2 separate regions of the Homo sapiens genome follow, and region 1 is linked to region 2. Evidence: promoter capture Hi-C in human tissues and cell types (Jung and others, 2019). All regions are on one chromosome and are shown on one strand. Each heading gives the region's core, a stretch centred on a gene start or on the middle of the fragment in contact. The rest is flanking DNA. Distances are from core to core; before and after follow the strand shown.

Region 1 (5,325 bases), core at 474-2,973, 35 kb before region 2:
TTGCTCCTTCTTCCTTTTAGGGGAAATCAAGGACCAGAGGGTTTTGCCCAAGCTTGAGTGAGAGGCAAAGTGGTGACTGACACCAGGACTTCACCCCTAAACTCCAACATTTTTGCCATGACACCACCACCTTCTGCTTCCAAAATTTTCCATTATGCTCTACTGTCTTTCCTAGAAGTGGAAAGAAGGACATTTTTGTCAAGATTTTCTGCATCAGGGTTTGAAAATTTTGATGACTTTTTGGTTAACTGAAAATTACCCAGAAAATCAAATTATCTAGACTGCTCATCCCCCAAATGTTCTAGTTAATCAAGGTTTGATTGTGTTTGTTTTGCAAAAAGAAAACTTCTCTCCTAAGACATTTAGACTCAAATAGATGTGCCCGGTGCTTATGTGGTCTCATAATTTATGCACTTGAGTTGCTGTTCCGTGGGCAATTTGGCAGGGATCACAGGCATAGACAAAGAAGATGTTAACAGCAAAAAAGACATCACCAGAAAGCCTTTGGAAGACAAACACTTCACATCTTCAATTACAAGACAACCTGATGCAGAAAGAGACTAAATTAATTTAAAAACCTCCTGCACAAAGAAAATAATGGAAAAATACATCACAAGTAGTTATCCCTTTTGTGCTAAAAACAAGTGATTCGGAGAAAATAACTGCATGGGGCTGAATGTGTTAGTCTTATAATCTTCTAGTTTTAAATTCTTAGGGGAGAAACAGAGAATAAGAAAAAAGAAGCTTTCATTGTTGCAACAAACATTTATTGGATATTTAGTGTATTGCCAGGCACCAGGCTACACTTTCTGTGACTTTTTCTACTCTTAAAATTTCTTTCAATCATGTGAAAGAAACTTCTAGATGTCTCATTACTGATTCCAACAGTGGCTCTAGAAAGGCCATTTTTTTCTGAGGTTTTTGCAAAAACTGTTTTGGCTCAACTTAGAAGTGCAGCTGGGAATATCACTTGGTGTTATTCCCCCTGGGAGCCTGAGTTCTCTGCGACTGGTTTATCCTAAGGTTTGGGGGCCACCCATTTGCAAGGAGAGGGCCTTAGATTACTAGAGATTATGAATATTTCAGGTTGAGTTCTCTGGGAAGTAGGCTCTGAAATGGAGCTCGGTGTGCCAGGGGTTTATTAGGGAGTTACCATGGACAACCACATCTGTGTAGAGGAGGAGGAAATGGATACAGGCAACAGCAGCCTTGGCCAACCCATGGGATGCTCTGCAGCTAGAATGGGCCTTTAAAGTTGGCTAGACCAGGACTTTAGACTCCTGCATTCATCAGTCACTGGATGTGGGCTGCCTGGGGCTACCTGAGAAAGTTGTGACCTTGAGGGAGGCAGCTCTTTGCAACTGAAGCAATCTCTGAAGGGACAGATTGCTGAAGGCTGCTTGCTGACAATCTTTCACTAAAGGGGCTCTGGGTGGCATATCATAGCATTCACTACTGTGAGGCTCCATTGAGAACTGACCTGCCTTCCTTCCCTCCTTCCTTCCTTCTTTCCTTCTTTCCTTCCTTCCTTCCTTCCTTCCTTCCTTTCCTCCTTCCTTTCTTCCTCCCTCCCTCCCTCTTTTCCTTGCTTCTTTTCTTACTTTCTTTCCTCCATTCTTCCTTTCTTCCTTCCTCCCTTCATTCCTTCCCTCCTTCTTTCCTTCCTTCCATTCTCCCTCCCTCCTTTTCTTCCTTATTTTCTTCCTTTCTTTCCTCCACTCTTCCTTTCTTCCTTCCTTCCTCCCTTCATTCCTTCTCTCCTTCTTTCCTTCCTTCCCTTCTCCTTTCTTCCTTCCTTCCTTCCTTCCTCCCTCCCTTCCCTCCTTCTTTCTTCCTTCCTTCCTTCTTTCTTTTGTTCCATCCATGCATCCAACATGTATTTATTTTGTGTCTGCCATCTGCCAGGCACAACCTGATGGAGAAGATGTCATTAAACAAAATATTATACATTATTTATTTACAACTTGATGCATACTAGAAAGAGACCACACCAAGTGAGATGAGAGAAGATAATTGGGGGAACCAGGAACCAACAGAATCAGGGAATGTTTAGGCTGAACTCTGAGGAATGAATTAGGATGAAAAAGAAATGGGTTTTCCAGGTGGAGGGAGCTTTGAGTTGGAGGAATTGGCAGCACAATGGGGGTGGCCCAGGGATAGTGGGGAGGGGAGAGAAGGAAGAGATGAGACAAGATCTGGGGATTGCACAGGCAGAGCTCAGGAGTTTCATCCTAAACACTGGGACCAAAAAATCTATACTGTGTCTGGAGATCTAGGAATGAGGTTCTGCTGGGACCAGAAAGCTAGAAGTTAGTTTAAAATTGAAATGCACGCTCCTACCTACAAGGTTTATATTATTCTTGAAAATGGGAGCTAACTAAAATTAAAATAGCTTCATTCAGTGTGAGCTGCACAATATTCCACACAGACTCATTGGGTTTTTGTCTCAGTATCCCATTTTCCTGAGCTTTGTAATTCTCAAACCTCATCTCCATGGAATAATCCAAACTGTGAAATGAAACACTTACAGGGCCAGTCAACCACAAGATTTGAGAACTGCAGTCCATTAACCCTTGGATGAAGGAGTAGATGACTTGAATCATCTTGTAATTTTTGCCTTCCTGTAGGTGAAAAGATAAAAAAAGTCTCAAGACCACATCCAGATGAGTCCAAATACCTGCTGAAAACTGTTGGGTCTATGGAATTTACAGAGAAAGAAGTTTCTCTTCTGACTTACTTAGAAACAGAATTTTATTTTTTCTTATTTTTTTCAAATAGATAAGATGGTAAATTTTATGTTATATGAATATATGTGAATGTATATGAACATATATATAATATATATTTTACCATTTTATCCACTCTTAAGCATATAGTTCAGTGATATTAAGTATATTCATATCATTGCAAAACCATCCATCTCCAGAACTCTTTTCATCCTGCAAAACTGAAGCTTTGTAATCATTTAAACAACTCCCCAATCCGTCCTTTCAGGAAGAGTTGACCTCCCTCTCCTTTCAGGAAGGAGGGGTTGGGGAGTTGTTTAAATTATTTCCCTGGAAACCCCTATTCTACTTTCTGTCACTAAGAATTTGACAACTCTACTCCCTCATGTAAATGGCATCATATAGAATTTGTCTTTTTGTGACTGGATTATTTCACTTAACATAATGTTCTCAAGGTTCATCCATGTTGTAGCATATGTCAGAACTTCCTCTCTTTTAAAAATTGAATAATATACCATTGTGTGTATATACTGCATTTTACCATTCATCTGTTGATGGACAATTGGGTTGATCTTCATTTTCATGATTGTGAGTAATGCTGTGAACATGGATGTACAAATATCTTTTCACTTTCAATCTATTTGTGTCTTTGGATCTAAAGTGAGTCTTTTGTAGGCAACATGTAGATAGATCATGTTTTTAATGCACTTTGTCAATCTCTTTGATTGGAATGTTTATCCATTTACATTTAAAGTAATTACCAATAAAATCTACCATTTTGTGATTTGTTTTCTATATGCCTTATAGCTTTTTTTGTCCCTGATTTCCTGCATTACTATCTCTTTTGTGTTGAGGTATATATATATATATATATATATATATATGTATATATATTTTATACAGAGGGTCTCCCTCTGTTACCCGGGCTAGAATGCAGTGGTGCAATCATAACTCATTACAGCCTCAATCTCCTGGGCTCAAGCTATCTTCTCACCTCAGCCTCCTGAGTAGCTGGTACCCCAGGCATGTACCACCACACCCACCTATTTTTTTATTTAATTTTTTTTTTTGTACTGGAAGTGTCTCCCTGTGTTGCCCAGGCTGGTCTCGAGCTCCTCTTGCCTTGGCCTCAAAGTGCTGGGATTACAGGCTGGAGCCACTGCACCCCACCTGTGTTGGTTTTTTGCAGTGAAATGTTTTAATTCCCTTCTTATTTTCTATTTTTTTTTTTTAAATTTCTGTTTCCAACTTTTACTTCAGATTCAGGCGATACATGTGCAGGTTTGTTACATGAGTAAATTGTGTGTCATGGGGGTTTGGTGTACAGATTATTTTGTCACCCAGGTAATGAGCAGAGTACTTGATAGGTAGTTTTTTGATTTGCACCCTCCTTCCACTCTCCACTCTCAAGTAAACCCTGGTGTCTATTGTTCCTTTTTTTGTGTCCGTGTGGACTCAGTGTTTAGCTCCCACTTATAAGTGAGAGCATGTAGTATTTGGTTTTCTGTTTCTGTGTTAATTTGCTTAGGGTAATGGCCTCCAGCTCCACCTGTATTGCCGCAAAGGACATGATTTCACTCTTTTCTACAGCTGTGTAGTATTTCATGGTGTATATGTACCACATATTTTTTATCCAGTCTACTGTTGATGGGCATCTAGGTTGATTCCATGTCTTTGCTACTGTGATTCATGCTGTGATGAACATATGCATGCATGTGTCTTTATGGTGGAATGATTTATATTCCTTTGGGTATACACCCAGTAGTGGGATTGCTGGGTCAAGTGGTAGTTTTGTTTTAAGTTCTTTGAGAAATTTCCAGACTGTTTGAGGAAGAGAATTTAAAGGACTTGGGATCTGATACAATTTTAGAAACTTTGATTCATATTTGGTGTTTCTCCCTGCCACTCTCTACTCCCATCTTGTTGTCTCTCACTCGCTGTTCATTCCGAGAGAACAGTGGAGGAACATTTGAAAAACACACCTCTTCCGTCTTGAGGAAGAACAGGCTGTAACGACTTTGCAACCTTGCTTGGGCTTCACTCGGAACTCCTCACCTGCTTGGGCTGCTTTATTTTGTTCATCAGTTGCGGTCCTTATTTAACATAAAGTTTGAAAAGCTTAAACTTTTCAATTAGTAGCTGAGCTCTCCCCCATAGAGATCATCCAGTTAAAAACCCAATTCCTGGGTTGGTGTCTACGAGTTGTCTTTTATTTGGTTCTTATGAAAAAGGTCCATATCCAAGAAGGAGCACATCAGGGAAAAGCACCTCAAAATGTCCTGTCCTGAAAGTGTCTTCAGAAGATAACATTTCAGGCTTGGAGCCTGGGAACAGAAGGTGCCTATTGGTCTTTAATTAAGGAAACTGTTGCAAATGAAGGGCATTTAACATCTTAAACCACCAGTGGCTCAAAGGCAGCATGAAGCCCGTGGGTAACAAAGATGCATTTGTTGTCCCAGCTGTCCTGGTACCTGCATTGGCCTATACAGCTGACCTACAGCTAAATGCTTCCCAGCAGGGCAGATTATAAGTGATCTTGGACTCCCTGGGCTGTGACAACTCAATTTTCACAAGTGGCAAAGAAAGTCAAGCCACCGTC
Region 2 (4,706 bases), core at 389-2,888:
CAGAAGATATTGTGAGTCTTGGGTTTTTCTTATTTTCAAAGCATCAAGTGCAAAAACAAACAAATAAACACTTGGATTCAAGGGCTAGGCAGGATGGGATGGGAGTGGGGGGATGGAGAACTTCAGCATCAGCTTCAGTGCTGGAAGCTTGAGTGCTACTCTAGTTACTGCAGCTCTGTACCAATTTACCCAGAGTTTAGTGCTGTAAAACAACCATTTATTATGCTCATGGATTGTGTGGGTGGGAAGTTCGGACAGGGTACAGCGGGACAGCTATTCCTCAGTTGGAAGTCTTGAGGGCTGGGAGCTCAAATCATCGGAAGGCACATTCACTCAGGTCAGTGGCTGACACTGGTGGTCGGCTGGGAGGCCTCGGTTTCTCTCCACGTAGGTTTCTCCAGGTGATCTCTCCAGGTGGGCTTGTTAGGGCTTCCTCCTGGTACAGCAGCTGTGTTCAGAGGACAGGTGTCCTGAGCTATCAAGCCAGGGGGATGTTGTAGCACTCTTTTGGACTGTCCTCAGAAACTGCTCTGGTCACTTCAGCTGCTTTCTAGTTTTCAGAAGCTGGTCGTTAAGGCTAGTAGAGGGCAGGACCCAATTCAACCCCATTTTTTAGAGATGAGGTCTCGCTATGTTGCCCAGGCTGGTCTTGAACTCCCAGGCTCAAGCAATCCATCCACCTTGGCCTCTCAAAGAGCTGGAATTACAGATGTGAAGCACTGCCCCTCCCCCAACCCCATCTGTTATGAAAGGAGGGTCCTTTGACCACAAGTGCCCTGAGAAGTCAGGAGGACTTCCCAGTCTCAGACATTTTTATCTGAGCTGGAGATGGGGACAGCCTCCCACACACAGGACTTGGAAGGCTATGAAGGAAGTAGGGGGCTCTCTTGGGAGGTCATTTCCCTTGGTAGGGACGGTTGTGTGAATGAACTTGGCCTTTAGGGAGAGGAGCCCGACTCTCACCTGAAGCCACCCAACCTGTGCAGATGGCTGAGGAAGCCCTGGACACCACAGGACCGCTAACCCAGGATCTTTGTTGACTTTGCTCCCAGGCCACTGCCCCACACGCAGGCTCTGAACTCCTGGGAGAGGTAGGGAGCCAGCCCGAGGCGTGAGTCAAGAGTGTAAAGTACACCGAGTTCCTTGGCAAGCAGGCTCTTCAAGGGGAAGGTGTCACTCGGGGAACAATGAGAAATGTGTCTTTCCCTCAGCCCCTGATAGAAAAGATAACACCCCTTGAGCACAGCCTTTTCTCATCTGTTCTTGCTCTTGGATGGGGGGCTGCTACTCCGGAGCGGCGAACTGGCGGGCGGGGGTGCGCCTGTGAGTGTGAGCGCGCGTGTGCGTGTGTGCGCGCGCTCTCGTGGCCTTCCGGCAGCTGGCAGCTGTCCCGGCCCCCACCCCACCCTACCCCACCCCACCCAGCCGCGCCACGCCACGCCGCCCCCGCCCCTCGCTGTCCTGGGTGCGCCTCGGGCCGCTGCGCTCCTGGCCAGCTCCCCCCAGCGCCTGGGAGGCGACCCCCAGTGCGCCCGGGTTCAAAGGCCCGGCGAGGCAGTTCCAGCCCCTCTGGGGGGCGGGGAGGCGACGGGGGTGGTGCAGAAGCCAGAAAAGCCCGAGCCACAGCCGGCCAGCTCCGCGCAGGGATGGGCAGCGCGCTCTGAAAGTTTATGACCGCCGCAGCCAACTCCTGGCCGGAGCTGGAGACGCAGCGAGCGATCGGCCGGCCTCGAACCCCCACAGCTGGAGGGCGAGGCCAGCTGTACCCGGCCCCAGTGCCCTTTCGCGGCCACAAGCGGCCGTCCTCCTGGTCCGGTGCTCCGGCGCCTGATCTAGGTTCATGGAGCCGGGGCTGTGGCTCCTTTTCGGGCTCACAGTGACCTCCGCCGCAGGTAAGCGCACGGGGCGGCGCGCCTCTCCTGGCGCGAGCGCACACAAAAGGACCCAGGGCGGGGGACCCGAGGCGCGGAGAAGATGTGCGTCGCGGGGAGCAAACTCTTGCCTGGGCTCTGCACTCGTGAAGACGCCTGGGGGAGGGCTGGGGAGCAGAAGCGGCGCGCAACGACTACCCGCACGGGCTCCGGGAGTTGCAGCCCGCGCACTGGCTGGAGACCTGCTGCCTGGGCCGACTTGGTCAATTTTTCATGAAACTGGGGACTTTTCAGAAAGTTTGCGAACTATTCAGAGGCTGTGCCAAACCCTGGCAAAGTTTGCAGAAAGTATGCAAAATGCATGCAAGTTTTCAACGGGTGCAGATAGCTTGCAAGCTTTTCACAGAGTGTGCAGATAGCTTGGAAACTTTTCAGAAACTGCGCAGAGCTTTGGAAACTTTGCAGACATTTTGCTTGCTCCACCCCCCTCCTCAGGTGTTTGGGGGTGGCGGGTGTTGAGGGGTCTGCACACTCAGCTTAGGAGCCCCTCAATCTGCCTTCTGCAGGATTCGTGCCTTGCTCCCAGTCTGGGGATGCTGGCAGGCGCGGCGTGTCCCAGGCCCCCACTGCAGCCAGATCTGAGGGGGACTGTGAAGAGACTGTGGCTGGCCCTGGCGAGGAGACTGTGGCTGGCCCTGGCGAGGGGACTGTGGCCCCGACAGCACTGCAGGGTCCAAGCCCTGGAAGCCCTGGGCAGGAGCAGGCGGCCGAGGGGGCCCCTGAGCACCACCGATCCAGGCGCTGCACGTGCTTCACCTACAAGGACAAGGAGTGTGTCTACTATTGCCACCTGGACATCATTTGGATCAACACTCCCGAGTAAGTCAGCCTTTTGTGGTGAGGAACGTGGCTCCCGGACCAGGCCCACATCTGCTCATTCCCAGGAGGACCTCACTCCACCCCAGCCCCGCTCAGTTAGCCCAGAGCCTGCCCTGGCACAGCCTTTAGCTCTTGCTGGGGCCTCTTGCCAGCCCAGGTCTCTTCTGCAGGTCAGGGGTGTGACCCACATCCCCCCTGAGGGCCTGGCCCAAGAGAAACTCAATCCTGAGTTTGATCCTGTGGAAGGAGGAGCCCTCCCTCTGAATGAAGTGAACTGACCAGGGGGATTAGATACCTGAGATGTCTCTCTGAGCCTCTTTTCTGAGATAGAGAAAGCCCCGAAAGTTTATCTCATTCCCCAGGGGCCAAGGGGGCTCATACTCACTGTTGACCCCACCAGGATCCAAGGGGTTTAAAATTCCTTGAAAGCATCCTGGTCTCCAGGGAGTCTAAGGGTGGGTTTAGCTGAGCCTGACAGAACCTGCACAGTCCACTCGGGGTAGAATTCCCCTGGGATGGGCTCCCTTCCTTCCTGTGGGCCCCCCTGGATGCCAAGGCAGGGTGAATTCACATCAGCTCGTCCTTGGGCCTTCCACAGGCTGGCTCCAGTCACCCACTGCCATGGTCACAGAGGGCCTTCCCTTCTCTCCTGCAGTCCTTAGAAACTCTCTTACCCTAGGGCCTAGACAGCACCATCCTGAATTTGTCTTGGGGTTCGTCCAGTGGGGAAGTCAGCCTTCTCCTGGGGCCATGTGGAGAGAGTGTGGCTCTGACAGGGGGAGGCTTTGATGACTCCCAGTGTTCAGGGAACCCCTCCTGCAGGCACATCATCTTGCAGGCCATACAGAGGGCTTGACCTTGCCTGGGTCACCAACTCTCTGGCATTGGCTTCCCCATCTCTAAGATCTGGGACTTGGATCAGACACCTCTAAGTTCTGTTCCCTGGGTGTTCATGGGATCTCTTGGGACTCTTGCTTGTACCCTATTAGGGATTCTTAGCTGAGAACTCAGAGATGGTTGTGAATGCAAGCCCCTGGAAGCCTGGAAAGGCACCTTTGCCACCGTGTCCCGGAGCCGTCTTGATTCAGGTTCCTCACGGTCACCTTTATCCCCAAGCCCCATAACCTCTGAGCCCTTGGTAGCAGCTTTCATGGGGCTCACTTACCTACCTTGTGTCATCGGCACCTCAAAAATGAAGTGCAGACGAGGGTAGTAAACCTGAGGGGTGGAATGTCTTTCAGACCAGGGGACAAGACCTCTAATCACATCCATGATAGATCTGGAACATCACCCCACCATGCTTGAAGGGCAGGCAGGGGCTTCACATTGAGCCAGCAGGACACGTGCACAAAGTCCTGCACTCAGAAAGACTCTGGCTCGGCTTAAAGTCCTGCTGTCACTGTCTTGAAATCCTTAATACTTTCTGAACAAAGAGCTGCACATTTGCATTTTCTCCTGGGTCCCATAAATTCTGTAGCTGGTCGTGATACCCTGATTTGCTGGCTGGGCTGTGTCCACCTAGAGGATGGGAGGTGCCTCCCTGTTTCTTTCCCTTTGTGGGGAAGATAGAAGCTGTGAGTGTTGGGCCATCATCAATTGCCTCTTATCCTCAGATAGCGAGGGGAGTCACCTTTCCTTGTAGCCCCTGCACCTTGGCACTGCCCTTTCTGATTCTTATCCTGCATCATTGTGCTCTGATCAAATTCACTTCATAGAATGGAGGGCACTGGGCAGTCACCAGGAACCGAGTTCTTGTCTTGGCCAGAATCCCCAGCTGTGAATCTAGAAGGAGAAAGAAGAAAGCTAATGGAATTACAGACAGGAACCTGGGGTGGTGGGCAGGTGGGAGAGGATTTGGAAACCATCTCTTTCATTCGTTGCCTGTTTACCAAACCCCGGAGCACTGGCTGGGGAGGAAGTGATGACTTGAGACATGTCTGAGAGTCTCAACCAACA

What was found. The method cuts DNA at HindIII sites, captures the fragments that hold promoters and counts their contacts. A contact is called where the count stands out against the background at its distance.
Region 1: a contact is called between a fragment that was not itself captured here and the fragment with the promoter of EDN3 in region 2, in 1 of the 25 tissues and cell types used here (dorsolateral prefrontal cortex).

What each region holds. Positions count from the first base shown.
Region 1 is chr20:59,263,813-59,269,137 of GRCh38, forward strand. No RefSeq gene overlaps it. Among named protein-coding and RNA genes, the nearest start is that of EDN3, 34 kb to the right of the region's middle. The HindIII fragment of the contact is 4,349 bases long and covers 1-3,898 here.
Region 2 is chr20:59,298,973-59,303,678 of GRCh38, forward strand. It overlaps EDN3 (endothelin 3), which reads left to right and starts at 1,639. Exons shown (of 5, transcript NM_207034.3): 1 at 1,639-1,892; 2 at 2,438-2,750. The coding sequence starts at 1,841. The HindIII fragment of the contact is 7,655 bases long and covers 1-4,706 here.